Regions from separate parts of the Homo sapiens genome. Here all the other regions are linked to region 3. Evidence: promoter capture Hi-C in human tissues and cell types (Jung and others, 2019). All regions are on one chromosome and are shown on one strand. The core of a region is centred on a gene start or on the middle of the fragment in contact, and the rest is flanking DNA. Distances in the headings are between cores, read along the strand shown. Region 1 overlaps ZGPAT (zinc finger CCCH-type and G-patch domain containing). Region 2 holds the start of PCMTD2 (protein-L-isoaspartate (D-aspartate) O-methyltransferase domain containing 2). Region 3 holds the start of SAMD10 (sterile alpha motif domain containing 10).

What was found. The method cuts DNA at HindIII sites, captures the fragments that hold promoters and counts their contacts. A contact is called where the count stands out against the background at its distance.
Region 1: a fragment that was not itself captured here is called in contact with the fragment with the promoter of SAMD10 in region 3 in 6 of the 25 tissues and cell types used here (H1 embryonic stem cells, IMR-90 fibroblasts, dorsolateral prefrontal cortex and 3 more).
Region 2: the fragment with the promoter of PCMTD2 here is called in contact with the fragment with the promoter of SAMD10 in region 3 in 3 of the 25 tissues and cell types used here (dorsolateral prefrontal cortex, heart right ventricle and thymus).

What each region holds. Positions count from the first base shown.
Region 1 is chr20:63,722,001-63,724,892 of GRCh38, forward strand. The region is part of intron 2 of ZGPAT (zinc finger CCCH-type and G-patch domain containing); the gene reads left to right. Among named protein-coding and RNA genes, the nearest start is that of LIME1, 13 kb to the right of the region's middle. The HindIII fragment of the contact is 9,604 bases long and covers 1-2,892 here.
Region 2 is chr20:64,254,005-64,257,147 of GRCh38, forward strand. It overlaps PCMTD2 (protein-L-isoaspartate (D-aspartate) O-methyltransferase domain containing 2), which reads left to right and starts at 1,744. Exons shown (of 6, transcript NM_018257.3): 1 at 1,744-1,866. The HindIII fragment of the contact is 11,329 bases long and covers 1-3,143 here.
Region 3 is chr20:63,977,853-63,980,891 of GRCh38, forward strand. SAMD10 (sterile alpha motif domain containing 10) reads right to left here and starts at 1,790. Exons shown (of 5, transcript NM_080621.5): 1 at 1,525-1,790. The coding sequence starts at 1,615. RefSeq lists enhancers at 944-1,238, 1,224-1,739, 2,335-2,394 and a silencer at 1,585-1,904. The HindIII fragment of the contact is 26,934 bases long and covers 1-3,039 here.

The sequences.
Region 1 (2,892 bases), core at 197-2,696, 260 kb before region 3:
AGACTCCATCTCGGGGAAAAAAAAAAAAAAAAAATGCCATCAACAGCACGACCCTGGAGGCTGCCCCAGCCCTGAGAGAGTTCGAGGGGGTGAAACAAAGGCAAGCCCTTCAGGGAGACACTAGAAAGATCCAAATGCATAAGCAGGATTCCTTGAGAAAAGGTCTGTATCATCCCTTCTGACACCAGCAAGCCACATCAGAAATACAGGTTGCCTTCCCCATGGCTACATGTGAGCTGGTAGTAGTGGCTGAGCAGAAATAGCCCAGCTGTCCTCCTGAAATTTAGCAGGGTCTTACTTCATTGAGCAGTCATCTGGTTCGTAGACACCAGAGTTACAGAAAAGTTTATTGGGAGGTTTTGACAGTTTAATAGAAAAAAGTTTATTGTGACAGTTTTGACAGCTGAATAGAAAAAAGTTTATTGTGACAGTTTTGACAGCAGAATAGTTGCTTTGCTGGAGAGACGGATCTTTGGAGCTGCCAACTCCATCATTTTGGTGATATCCAGCTCTGTTGCTGAATTTTTAGCTATGCTGTTTTAAGTTATTTTCTTAGTGGTTGCTCTAGAGATGACAATGTACATCTTTAACTTACCACAATGTACTTCAGATTATTACTAACTTAACACTTAAAGTACAGCATTTTTTTTTTTATGGAGTTTCACTCTGTCACCCAGGCTGGAGTGCAATGGTGTGATCTCGGCTCACTGCAACCTCCGCCTCCCAGGTTCACGCCATTCTCCTGCCTCAGCCTCCTGAGTAGCTGGGACTACAGGCACCCCCACCACACCCGGCTAATTTTGTATTTTTAGTAGAGATGAGGTTTCACCATGTTGGTCAGGCTGGTCTCGAACTGCTGACCTCAGGTGATCCGCCCATCTTGGCCTCCCAAAGTGCTGGGATTACAGGTGTGAGCGACTGCACTGAGCCTAAGTATGGCAACGTGTCTATAACATAGATCTACTTCCGTTGTACTATGACATAGTTCCCCCTCCATTTTCCTATAGCACAGTCCCAACCTCCCTTTTCCTCTGACATAGTTCCATCCTCCCTCCTCCTATGACGTCCTCCCTTCTCCTCTGGCATAGCTCCATCCTCCCTTCTCCTATGACACAGCTCCATCCTCCCTTCTCCTCTGACATAGCTCCATCCTCCCTTCTCCTATGACACAGCTCCATCCTCCCTTCTCCTCTGACATAGCTCCATCCTCCCTTCTCCTGTGTCATAGCTCCATCCTCCCTTCTCCTCTGACACAGCTCCATCCTCCCTTCTCCTCTGGCATAGCTCCATCCTCCCTTCTCCTATGACACAGCTCCATCCTCCCTTCTCCTATGACACAGCTCCATCCTCCCTTCTCCTATGACACAGCTCCATCCTCCCTTCTCCTATGACACAGCTCCATCCTCCCTTCTCCTATGACACAGCTCCATCCTCCCTTCTCCTCTGGCATAGCTCCATCCTCCCTTCTCCTCTGACATAGCTCCATCCTCCCTTCTCCTCTGACATAGCTCCATCCTCCCTTCTCCTCTGACATAGCTCCATCCTCCCTTCTCCTCTGACATAGCTCCATCCTCCCTTCTCCTCTGACATAGCTCCATCCTCCCTTCTCCTCTGACATAGTTCCATCCTCCCTTGTCCTCTGACATAGCTCCATCCTCCCTTCTCCTCTGACATAGCTCCATCCCCTCTTCTCCTTCATGTATTATTGCCATATATACATTTATGTATGTTATAACTTCAGCTCTTCAGCGTTATAATTATTGCTTCAAAAGTATTTTGAAAGAAGTTGCCTGGAGGCAGTGGCTTATGCCTTTAACTCCAGCACTTTTGGGGGCTGAGGTGGGCAGATCGCCTGAGCCAGGGAGTTGGAGACCAGCCTGGGCAACATGACGAAACCCATCTCCACCAAAATTACAAAAAATTAGTCTGGCATGGTGGCACGCGCCTGTAGTCCCAGCTATTTGGGGGAGGATCCCAGCTAAGGTGGGAGGATCACTTGAGCCTGGGAAGTCAAGGCTGCAGTGAGCTGAGATTGTGCCACTGCACTCCAGCCTGGGTGCAGATCTTATCTCAGAAGTAAAGGGACTAGGAATGGTGGCTTTTATCTCTAATCCCAGCACTTTGGGAGGCTGAGGTGAGTGGATCACCGGAGGTCAGGAGTTTAAGACCAGCCTGGCCAACATGGTGAAACCCCGTCTCTACTAAAAATACAAAAAGTAGCCGGGTGTGGTGGTGGGTGTCTGTAATCCCAGCTACTCGGGAGGCTGAGGCAAGAGAATCGCTTGAACCTGGGAAGCGGAGGTTGCAGTGAGCAAGATCGCACCACTGCATTACAGCCTAGATGACAGAGCGAGACTCTGCCTAAAAAAAAAAAAAAAAAGAAAAGAAAAGAAATTAAGATCTGGACACTGTGGTTCATGCCTGTAATCCCAAAGCCTTGGGAGGCCAAGGCAGGAGGATCACTTGAGGCCAGGAGTTCAACACCAGCCTGGGCAACATAGCGAGACTCCATCTCTATTTAAAAAAGAAAGAAATTCAAAGAGAAAAAAAGTATACTTGTTTTTTTGTATCATCCATATTTTACCTTTCTTTTTTTTGCCCCTTTTTCTTTCCTGTGAATTTGAGTTACTGTCTAGTGTCATTTCCTTTTAGTCTGAAGAACTTCATTTAGAATTTTTTTTTTTTTTTTTTGAGACAAAGTCTCACTGTGTTGCCCAGGCTGGAGTGCAATGGTGCAGTCTCAGATCACTGCAACCTCTGCCTCCCTGGTTAGAGTGATTTTCCTGCCTCAGCCTCCCAAGTAGCTGAGACTGCAGGCACCTGCCACCACCCCCAGCCAATTTTTTTGGTATTTTTAGTAGAGACAGGGTTTCACTATGTTGGCCAGGCTGG
Region 2 (3,143 bases), core at 494-2,993, 280 kb after region 3:
GACTCAACCTTAGTCATAGATTAAAAGAAGTTAATCACTTATGTCTGTAGATGAATGCACACTTACATGTAGACATACAGCTTAGAAGGTATACGAGCTTTGGAAAACTTTGTAATTTTGAGTTGGTATGGTGATAATTTCCAGGCCTTCTCCTTGTAACCGGTTACAGAAATAAAACCTCTCTTACTCTCCAGCTCATTTGCATCTTGTTATTGGGCCAGGAGAAGTAGTAGCCCGACCCTCAGTTGGGTCCAGGAACAAAGGGAGTGTCTGAAGACAGCAGTGATGTGATCACCTGTTTTAGGAGGACCACTCGCCAGAGCCCAGGGGAATGGTGGGAGGGGTGGGGAGAGGTGAGGGGAGCTGGGACAGGGCAAGGAGGGATGTATGGAGGACGTGTCCCCTGGCAGTAGGAAGAGAGTCAAGGATGACTCCAGGGCTTCTGTAATTTGAAACAGTCACAAATAACCACAAGCTCTCAGGTGGAAGGACACTGAGAGCCCCATGAAGGTCATGAGGTGGTGGGCCACCTCAGGTCCGTGGATCCAGGACCATGGATCAACAAGAGAAGTGAGGTCTCCCTGGGACCACATAACGTGGTGAAGGCACCGGCCTTTGGTTTTCAAACTCTGCTCCTAAGTGGAGCTCCAGGGTCTGGGGAGGAATGCCGAGTTAGGAGGGAGGCGGGAACCGGAGACCCAGGCCCACTCGTCCGCCCCAGCGACGCTGGCACTTGCACATATGAGGCGGCTTGCATGGCTGTGCTTGAAGAAAGGGTTCTGCAGCTACAGCCTATCTGCAAAGCCCCACGCGAAGTTTGGGCAATGGGCTGTGTGAACCCAGAAAATGGGAGACAGGTCTCAGTTAATTTACAAAGTTTATTTTGCCAAGGGTGAGGACGCGCCCGTGACACAGCCTCAGGAAGTCCTGACATGTGCCCAAGGTGGTCGGGGCACAGCTTGGTTTTATACATTTAGGGAGACAGGATACATCCATCGATACATGTAAGAAGCACATCGGTTCGGTCTGGAAAGACGGGACAACTTGAAGCAAAGGCAGGAAGACTCCAAGCGGGGAGGGAGCGTCCAGGCCACAGATAGGTGAGACACCAACGGTTAAATTCTTTTGAGTTTCTCATTTGCCTTTTCAAAGGAGGCAAATCAGATATGTATCTATCTAAGTGAGCAGAGGAGTGACTTTGAATGGAATGGGAAGCAGGCCTGCCCTAAGCAGTTTCCTGCTGGAGTTTTCCTTAGTGATCTTGGGGGCCCAGGATATCTTCCTTTCACAGCTGATTTCACAAAGCCGGCTGGGTAGGAGGGCCCCAGGGCCGGGTGGCCGTCCGCGTGGCAGGGCGGGGGTCCCAGGGCGGCTGTGCTTGGTGCTGGGAGGCCGCCCGAGGGCAGCGCCGGCCCCGAGTCAGCAGCCGCAGGGCACCCTGGAGATGCGGAACGCCCCCAGCCGTGGGTCAGCAAAGGCGTCTCAGGTGACCCTTAGGGAGGGCTTCTGAGGCAGCCCGTGCGGGGTCCGTCCTGGCTGAGCACTGCGCGGACGGCGCGCCCGCGAGACTCGGACCCGGCCTAGGGCTCAGCGAGCTCTCAGCGGGGCGGGCGGACGCAGGCAGCCCAGGGGAGTGGGGCCCGCCCTGCGCCGCCATCACCCCTTTAAGTGCCAGGCCCGCGGCGCATGCGCAGTCAGGCCGTTGTGCGCAGGCGCAGAGGCGGCGGCGGCGGCGGCGGCGGCGGATGTTTACGGCGGCCGAGGTTGGAGCGGCGCTGCTCGGCCGCGGACACACGAGGGACGCGCCCGAGGAGCTGCAGGTGGCAGCCCAGGCGGTCCGAACCCGTCGGCCGGCCGAGCCTGGAGGTAGAGCCGCCGCCGCCGCCGCCGCCCCTCGGTCCGGCCTGCGGCGAGCGGGTGGTGTGTCCCCTCGGCCCCTTCCCTCCTCCTTCCCCACCCCCGGCACCCCTGCGCCCGGAGCTCTCCTCTGGGGGCGTCGCTCCTCCCCACCTCGGGCACCCTCACCTCCCCCCAGCGGCCTCCAGGGCGTCCCGCGTTTCTCTCTCCGAGCGCTCGCGGTTTCCCGTCGGTCTCTCCCGGTGCCCGTTGCTCACTCACACTCTTGGGTCTGGTTAGTCCAGACCTGCAGCTTGTCTTTGACTTCCCAAGTGGGAAACGTTTGCAGTTCCAAGGCAAGCCAAGAGCTAAGGTTTAGAACAAAGTCTGCCTTGGACCCTTTCAGAAGATGACAGGATTTTTTAAAAAAATAATTGCGCCCCCCCGCCCCGTGCCTTGGAGATAGTAAGAATTGGAGCAGAGCACTGGGACTTCAATTCACGCATGGAAAGAGATCTTTGTTAGTTGGAGGAAGGAGAACTTGCCTGAGCTTCGGGCCTTTGTTTTGTTTTTGTGAGAGGGACGTGTCTCCTAAATGAATGTTTGCTCCAGCGTTGCACCTCAAATAAGTCACCTAAATATCCACGCCCTCTTTATCCACCCCCTCTTTACTCGTGTGACTAGAATAGTTTTCATTTTTCTTCTCAAGGGAATGGCTAAACAGCTCCTATCTGGGCGTTTGATAGACTGTCATTCAAGAATGAGTGAAGTTGAGGTGCCTATAAGCAACTCAGAAATTGTTGTGGCCACGCTTGGGGGAAATAGAGCCCTACACTCAGGTGATGAGAGGAGACCTCAGAGGTGACCGATCCAGGGCCTTGCTCCCTGCGCCACCCCAGCTCGTACCTCCAGTGGAACTTGGCTGGGCTTATCAAGAGCTCCTTTCATTCATTGCAACTTCATTTGTTAGAAAGCTTCTCTGTGTATTTAGTAGGCATTGTCTCCAACATGTACCACTGGTCTGGCTTTTGTTAGGCCCATTAATAGTGTACATGTGACAGCCTTTCAAGTATAGGTGCTCCCCGGCTTACGGTGGGGTCGCATCCCAGTAAACACATCGTTAAACCTGAAGTCGAACCATCCGAAGTCGGAGACCATCTGTATTTGAAAAAAGTCCCTTTGCATTGCTTGTAAGAGTTCTGGTTTTCAAGGTGAGAAATCTGTTTGTGTGTTTGTTTGATCATTCTGCCCAAAGGAGATGTGGCTTTGGGTCCTTTTCCCCACTCATCTTCCACAATGAATTACTT
Region 3 (3,039 bases), core at 540-3,039:
CGTCTGTGCTGGGGAAACCGGGCTGAGGATGCTGCTTGCCCATCGCCACTGAAGGCACCCAGTTCACACAGCCCTATCTGGTGTTGGGGCCCGACTCACTGACTATGACTCATTGACAGCCTGAACTGTGGGCCAACTGACAAGCAGGGCTCACTCCGCAAACACGCGCTGGGCTCTCCAGCTGTGCCGCCCCCCACAGGGCCTGCAGCCCGGGACAACACCGGCCATGTGAATGGTGGGTACCCATTGGATATGGGCGGGTCAGCACAGGTATGTGGGGTGCAGCCATTGCTTGGGGACCCACGGTGATGCTCTGTGCTCCCTCTTCCCACAGTAACTGCATTAAAGTGTTTCATCTGAGCTTTGTCATCATCTCTGGGGGCACTGCTGACCTGAGTCTGGGGAGGCAGGCGTCTTGATCCAGGTCTGGTTACAGAGGGGCACCCCACATTCATTGTCAATGAATGAATGAATGAAGGCTCTGTATGGTATCTGCAAGTGAACAGAGCCTGTGGGGAGACAGAAGGTGGGCACAGGCCTGCCCCTGTCTTTACAGCACCCTAGCACCCAGGCCTTCAGCAGGGCAGGTGAGGTTCCCACGCTAGGGCCCTCATCCCATCCACCCTAGAGTGAGAGACCCTCCCGGCCTCAGACTCAGCCACCCACTCCACACCCAGGGCAGGGGTTGGGGATGTGTCTAGGAGGTCTAAGTATCGGTGAAAACCACATCCTACTTCCCCGTCCTCCCACGCCTGTAAGACTTAGGAGACATAACACCTTCCGCCCCCATTCTTGCAACTTTCAGGAACCGGACCCCTGGGTGACTCCAAATTTGAGGTCTGGGGTCAGCAGAGGGTGTGCTCAGTGGGCCACCGCCCCGAGGTGGCCCCTAGTGCTGTGGGAAAAGGCTTATTCTAAGCCCGCGCCTTCCAGCGGACAGGCGCCGTGGTCGCCGGGCTTTGCAGGGCCTCGAGCGGCGGGGCTGGTGCAGAAGCGCGCGGCAGTCCGGGGAAACCCGTCGGACTCCTCAGCCCGCACGGCACCTGCCCCGGCCAAGCAGGCTCCGCCCATTTCCTGCCTGCACTCCCGGAGGGAGTTCCGTCCGTCCCGCGGTCTGTCGGTCCGGTCCCTCCCGCCCCAACGTCAGGATTCCAGAAGGAAATGGGGCGGGGGCACCGAGGCGGGATGTGACCTCGGCCCCCTTTCGGCCCCACTGCAAAAGCGGGGGAGGGTTTTCCCCGTGCGCAGGAAAAGGTGACCCGAGCGTAGTGCCAGCCTGGACACAGGCGCCCCGGCTTGACACCCCCTCACCCCAAGCCAAGGGCGCGCTGACCCCCAAGGCCTGAGGCTGGCTGCCCCCTAAAGCAGGACAAAGGCTACGGGACCCCGTTGAGCCGAGACATCCGCCGAATACCCCCAGCCACCGCCGCTCGAAGCCCGCCGGGTCCCGCCCCGCCCCCGTGCCTCTGGGTCCCTGAGACCCCCGCCCGAGAAATCCCCGCTCCCCAATCCAGCCCCGCTCACCGTCCACATCCCGGCGCTCCCCGAAGCCCGCGCGCACGGCCCCGGCGCGGCCACGCGGGGGGCTCAGCTTGGACCTCAGCTCGGTGAACATGGGGCCCGCGGGTGCCAGGCCCGCGCACACGCCCCTCGCCGAGTGCAGGGCGGCCGGTGTGGCCGGCGGGGAACGCGCGCCGCCGCCCCGCCCCGCCCCAGCCGGCCCCGCGCCCGAGCCGGTCCCCGCGGCCCGCGAGTGTGCGCGACGAGGCACCTGCCGCCGAGCCCTGTGTGCCGGGCGCGCTCCGGGAGCTCCGAGGTGTGTCGGCGGCGCGCGGGCCTGCGTGCACCAAGGCTGTCCGCCAGGGCGAGGGGCGTCCGTGCGCCCCTGGGCACGGCTCCGCGGAGGAGAGTCCCCGTGAACCTGCCGGGCGTCCTCTGAGGTCGGGCCCCTCTGTGCGTGGGGGTGGGCTGAGGGGCATCTCACAGGGGTCTTCTACCTACCGGGGCCAGGACAAGGGGCAGGTCAACGCCTCCCACACACTTTCCTCGGTCTCCTACGTCTTTACTCGCCTTCAAATAGGCACCCGCTTCCCCGGAGAAACCAGCTTGACTCTTGCTTACCGCCCACCCCACTGTGAACATCAGGGTGGTTCTCCCTTCCCTCTGCAGCCCCAGAACCTGGCTCAGTGCCCGGGGGAGAGGGGGCGGTACAGTGCTCTGTAACTGAAAGGGGCTTGGCTTGCCTGGAGATGGGGCAGAGGGGAACTCCAAGGAGGCTGTAGCAGGCCGGAGCGGTGTGTTTGCTCCAGGACTCCAGTGAGAAGTGCTGAGATGGGGCTGGGCTAGGGAACTGTGGTTGCCTGGTGCAGCAGCAGGCCAGGCTTGCAACCAGCTATTCGGCTTGCTCTGCCCAGGAGCCTGGGTGCTCTCCCTGGGTGTATGTAGGGGCTCTGGAGGATGTCTTACAGCAGGAGGACCAGAGATGCACACAGACATGTAGAAATGCATGCACAGAGTACAGTCATGCACTTGCACCCAAAACACGAGCACACGTGACCTCTGTGCACACACCCCACTAATCACACACACAGAATTCACCCACATGCTTGACAGCCATGTTCATGTACTGACGTGTTCCCGACAGCTCAGCTGCGGTTATTTATTTCGTCAATTAGCTCTCCAGGAGCTAAGGATGTGGCCCTCACCAGAATGTCCAAGGCATGTTGGCGGGCGTGGGTGGGGTCTCTAGTCCCACTGGAGGGACAGATGCCTGAATGGGGGTTCAAGAATATGAGTGCTAAAAGCGTAGGGCAGCAGTGTGCGCACAGGACGCACACAGACAGGTGTGCCCATAACCAGTACACACAAGCTCTACACAACTGGACAGGGTACAGCTCTGCTCGGACAGGGCGCACCAGGGGCGAGGGCGGGCAGCTGGGCTGGTTCAGAGGGAGGGGGCCATGGGTTCAGAGGGAGGGGACCATGGGTCCCACTCTCACAGACAGGTCTCCGGACTGCATCAGAGCACTCGGGAAGCAG